2 separate regions of the Homo sapiens genome follow, and region 2 is linked to region 1. Evidence: promoter capture Hi-C in human tissues and cell types (Jung and others, 2019). All regions are on one chromosome and are shown on one strand. Each heading gives the region's core, a stretch centred on a gene start or on the middle of the fragment in contact. The rest is flanking DNA. Distances are from core to core; before and after follow the strand shown. Region 1 holds the start of ETS2 (ETS proto-oncogene 2, transcription factor). Region 2 overlaps LOC105372802 (a long non-coding RNA gene).

Region 1 (2,700 bases), core at 80-2,579:
CACACATTTGAAGGTAGTTTGCTTTTTTCGCTTTGAAAGCGATCAGTTTAGAGAGATGAATGACTAATCCCAGAAATGAGTATCTGAGCATTTCCCTGCGGATGGTCGGTGCTAACATTTACTGTGCTGCGCTACTACTCAGAATTTTAATAAAGCTTAACGTGGAGATTTATCTCTCTGATTGGTGGTGGTGTGGGCAGGCAGATAACGCACAGGCGCTTCCATTGTATGGAACAAATATAATCTCTTACTGGCGAATTAAAATAAATTACTCCTGTCTCCAAAGGGGACTGCTCATTTCTTTACTTTCTAAATAACTAGCGCGTCAACTACTGTTTTAGGCTACCCTGAAATTGTGTACAGGCTAACATAAAAGGTCTCCTGCCGTAAAAAATAAAATAGGATAACACACACGCAACCCAAACACACACAAGCAAACACTCAGTTACCTCTTCATTCAAATGCTGTAGGAACGAGAAAATAAAGGCAGCCCAGCGCAACCAGATCTCATTTCCGACAGGTTCCCCACGCTCTCCTCGCACGACCGAGGGGTCCCCAGCCCGGGCCCTGGACGCGGCGAGCAGGTGACCATGGCACCCCGCGCCCCGCAGGTTCCCGCGGTGCCGCAGCCTTCAGGTGTCTTGGGCGCCCCAGATCCTCCGGGCCCGGCGCCGCTCCAGGAAGTCACCCTCAAAGCCGGGGCGCCAGGCCACCTCGGACACGCTCTCCTGTGCCCCCACTCCCGTTCGCGAAATCATGTTCGCCGGGACATCCACTGGGCAGGACCCCCTACCAGGCCTGCGTTTCCTTTTAAAAACAAAAGCGAGCGAAACAAGCCAGCGCGCCCTGGCCGCGCCCGCCGCTAGGCGACCCCGAAGACAGCGGCCCTAGCACGCAGGAACCCCCCGGCCGACCCCGCCAGCCCCGGAGGCCACTCCATAACCGGAAAACGAGCCGGCGCGGAACTCAGACGCGCGCCCCTAGAGTCCTCGCAGCAGCCGCCACCCCCACCTGCACCCCCGGCAGCGCCCCGAGATCTGCGTGTCAGTGCCCCCCGCGACCCCCGCCCAGGCCCCGGGTGACCCTCCATGGGACTGGAGCCGCGCGCCGGGCGCTCTCTGCGGGCCCAGCTCTTACCCTGCCGCTGCGGGCAGGGCCGGCGCTTGGTCGGGACGGTGGCTGCTCGGCGCCCGCGGCTGCTCGGTGCGCGCCGGGCGAGGGCGAGGGCGCCGGCCAGAGACGATCAGGGAGGCCGGACGCTGGCCGGGCGGCTCCGGGAGCTCTGAGCTGGAGCGACACCGCACTCGTCAGTCTCTGGAGGAAGTAACCGGGCCGTCCCCCACGCGGCGCGCTCTTCAGGAGCGGGAGGAGGAGGGAGGAGGGAGGAGGAAGGAGGGACGGCCGAGTGGAGGGGAGGGGAGGAAACGAGGGAGGAGAGAAGAGAGAGGGGAGGGAAGGGGAGGAGAGAGAAGAGGAGGGGAAGGGAGGTAGGCAGGATGGGGAGAAGCGGGAGGAGAGGGAAGGGGGCAGCAGGAGGGTTGGGGGAGCGGAGGGAGAGGAGAGGGAACGCACGAGGGGAGAGAAGAGGAGGGCGGAGGCGGCGAGGGAGCGCGGGGCGGGGCTGACACCTTCCGGCCCAACCTTCCCTCCGCCTCCTGCTGTCACTCGGCTGGGTCCCTCGCCGGCTGGCCCTGAGGCCCCGGGAGCAGGGCCTCGGCCCCACGTGCGCGCGAGTGTGCGCCCTGGGAGCCGGGCGGAGACTTTCCGTGGAGCGCTCGGCGTCCTCTCTGGGGCCAAGGCCCTAACGCCAAACCTGCCTTTGGAATTCCGCAGCGACGGAGCAGTGGTGCTGGTGGCACCGAAGGGCAGCCGGGCTTGGGTAATAAGGCCCTGAAATTGAGCCGACCCCATTCTTGAACCTCTGAATGGGCTTAGGACTAATGATCATTCTATCACAAAAAGGCTCCAAATGAGGCGCTTCCTGTAGAAACCGGGCCCTGGCTGTGTCCCCGAGTCGTGGTGCTGATCGCGCTGCTCCCGGGAAGCCCCGATCCCGCAGGCTCCGCGGGAGTGGCGCCCTCTGGAGCTGAGCGGTGCCCAGATAGCGACCCGCCTTGGCCGCGCTTCAATCTGGGCTGGGCACTCCACGCACATCATCGTCACTCTCGGAGGACTTGCGGCTCCCACTTTACACAGGTGGGAACTGAACCTTAGGATGAATAACCTGCCACGTCAGATTGATGAGAAATTCAAGGTGGAAACCTGAGTTTATCTGACTCCGAAACCCTGGTCAAAACCACCCCCTACACTGTGGTTTCCGTTTTTATCAGAAGGTGCTTGAGTCCATGGCTGTTTGGACTCAGGTCACATGCTCAATATTTTGCAGGAAAGTTTAGATTCCTGAAGTTGTGGATGAAATAGGAAACCCCAGCTTAGGCGAGGCCACGGGGCTGAAAGCTGCTCACATCTCAAGAACTGCGGCACCACCGGGAAGGGAGAGGAATGGCCCAGCTTCTCTGTGACTCAGGGTTCTAGGTTTCCATGGTGACTCTAGGTCTAGAGTTATCCGGATAATTGAGATATCGGTGCACCTTAATGTTTCTGGGTCCCCGAAGGTCTCCGGGTATCACCGTGGCATGAGTCACAGTCAGAATCTATACGGCTGAAACAATCACGTATAGGGGAAGTGATTATTTCTTG
Region 2 (2,700 bases), core at 127-2,626, 280 kb after region 1:
TGATTTTTTAAATTGAATTCAAATTTGCAGCTTCTAAAAGAAAACCACAAGAACATGATTTTTAATCTCTTGAGATTTGCTTGCCGCTGTTCTACATATAAAATAGCAATTTCCTTAATATATCTAAGCCAGATTTATGAAACAATTAAAAATGGCATCTTATTTTTTTTTAAAGTCTTTTACCAGTTAAGGAAGAGCGTGTACTACCAAAGCAAAACAGGTTTTGCCTCTGGCGAGTCTGAGAAGTAGGAATGGCTATTTACACAGACCCTTCTTCAAAGTGTGAAGGAGGGCTCAAACACTGTAAATGGTGATTTTAGCCTTCAGCCAGATTCCAAACTTGGAAGGAAAGAAAAGTCCTCACAAAACCATGTCGCCTCATGTGAAGTGATGTCATCATGTTGGGGAGAGGTTACCTAGAGAAGATGAAGCATCTTACAGATTACTTTATTTGTGAGCTGTTTCTGATTATTCCAATGGAGGGAAGGTCACTTTGAATAATGACGCCTTGTCATTCCTTCTGTGGGGAATCTACACTACTAGTCACCAGATGTGCTGGGTCAGGCACTTCAGGCTTCCTGACCATAAGCTCCACGTGTTCAGGTCCCCTTTGTGTGTGTGCCCTTGCTGGAGGAAGGCCAACCTGAAGCCTGCTCTCCCTGCCCACCACCCCAATTAAGGAAAGCTGTGGTTTGTGATGATTTATCATCAATATCTGTGTCTACAGGCCCAGTCATCTTCTCCGAGTATGAAGGTTTGGCCTGACTGTAGTTCAGCAGCTTCCCATGTAGAACTTTATTCGTCCTTTTGAGCTAACTATTAAATACTATTGAGCCTTTTCTGAAATGGGAATTTTCCTCTTTAGACATCATTACAAAATCCTGTGACTCGACGGGACTTTGAAGATCAGTTGCTCTTGCAGATCTTTACATTTTCAACGTTTTAAAGACTCTTAAAAGGTATAAAATGAGTCCTATTGAAATCAAATTCACTATGTAGCACAAACTTGCTCATCTTGATAGTAAGTGAGCCTTCATGTGTTGGAATTTTCAGGAAATGAAGATGTCGCCTAATGATGTAGATGGTAGATTGAGAGGGATTTACAGTTATTATACTTGCCAATTCTACACCGAATTGAGGACTCTCCTGTGCAGAATTCTGCCAGACAGTTTTGAGACCTTTTCTTGACTTTCTTCCCCTGGAGAAGGCTTTCTGGCCTCTCTGTAAAGTTCACCCAATGGTCTTAGATCCACCCTCTGCAACTTACTAGAACCATAGGAATAAGTAAATCCCTTTTTCAAATGGAACCTTTCAACTATTTGAAGAGAACACAATCATGCCTCCCTTCAAACCTCATTCTTGCTGGACGCAGTGGCTCACTTCTGCAATCCCGGCACTTTGGGAGGCCGAGGCGGGTGGATCACTTGAGGTCAGGAGTTTGAGGACAGCCTGGCCAACACGATGAAACCCTCTCTCTACTAAAAATGCAAAAATTAGCTGGGCATGGTGGTGTGCGCCTATAGTCTCAGCTACTCAGGAGGCAAAGGTGGGAGAATCACTTGAATACAGGAGGCGGAGGTTGCAGTGAGCTGAGTTCGCACCATTGCACTCCAGCTCAGGCAACAGAGCAAGACTCTGTCTCAAAAACAAAAACAAAACTAAAAAACCAAAAGTCCTCGTGTCTTCTGTTCCAGGACAAGTCCCCAGTTTCCTCAATTGTTCTTTCCCATGGTTTTTGTTTATTTTTATTTTTGAGACGGAGTTTCGCTCTTGTCACCCAGGCTGGAGTGCAATGGCGTGATCTCGGTTCACTGCAACTTCTGCCTCCTGGGTTCAAGTGATTCTCCTACCTCAGCCTCCTGAGTAGCTGGAACTACAGGTGCCCACCACCATGCCTGGCTAATATTTTGTATTTTTAATACAGACGGGGTAACACCACGTTGGCCAGGCTGGTCTCAAACTCCTGACCTCAGGTGATCGGCCTGCCTCAGCCTCCCAAAGTGCTGGGATTACAGGCATGAGCCACCGCGCCTGGCCAGCCATGTGTATCTTAATGGAAAAAATAAAGACACAAATCAGAACATTAGATATTTTATTCTAATTTGATACTCTGTTGAGCCTCCTATAGGTAACGTGGCTTCTCTCTAAGAAAATAACTCATCACTGCTCCCCAAGGCTACTCCTTCCCTAGCATTACCCATCTTAGTATTAATAATAGGATAACCATTTACTCAGGGGTTTGTTTAAGCCCAAATGCCTAGCATCATTCTTTAATCCTCTTTCCCTCATAGCCATCCACCAACAAGTTCTGTAGGCTCCCTCTTCAAAATAGATCCCAGTGTCCAGTTCTCCACCTCACTTCCTCCACCACCAGCACCTTAATTCACATCACTAGCTCATTCTCCTGGAGACTGAAGTCACCCCTCCCTCATCTCCCTGCCTCTCCTCTTGGCTTCCTATAGACTGTTCTCCACACAGAAGTCAGAGTGTTTTCCTCAAAGTACAGATCAGATGAGATTTATGCCCTGCTAAACACCACCTCATACTTCCCTCGGCAATGTGGATAAAATCCAAGCTCCTGTTCATGTTGCCAAGGCCCTTCAAGATCTCACCTGCCTCCAGCACCACTGGCTCACTCTGCTGTGGCCACACTGGCTTCTTGGTGGTTCTAGAATATTCCTTATTCATTTCTACCTCAGG

What was found. The method cuts DNA at HindIII sites, captures the fragments that hold promoters and counts their contacts. A contact is called where the count stands out against the background at its distance.
Region 2: a fragment that was not itself captured here is called in contact with the fragment with the promoter of ETS2 in region 1 in 1 of the 25 tissues and cell types used here (dorsolateral prefrontal cortex).

The regions. Positions count from the first base shown.
Region 1 is chr21:38,804,558-38,807,257 of GRCh38, reverse strand. ETS2 (ETS proto-oncogene 2, transcription factor) reads right to left here and starts at 1,329. Exons shown (of 10, transcript NM_005239.6): 1 at 1,138-1,329. RefSeq lists silencers at 607-706, 727-826, 937-1,226, 1,417-1,486, 1,507-1,836 and enhancers at 1,947-2,106, 2,117-2,176, 2,357-2,496, 2,030-2,530. The HindIII fragment of the contact is 2,481 bases long and covers 1-2,416 here.
Region 2 is chr21:38,529,020-38,531,719 of GRCh38, reverse strand. The region is part of intron 1 of LOC105372802 (a long non-coding RNA gene); the gene reads right to left. It also overlaps a transcript of ERG not described here. Among named protein-coding and RNA genes, the nearest start is that of ERG, 32 kb to the right of the region's middle. The HindIII fragment of the contact is 4,107 bases long and covers 1-2,700 here.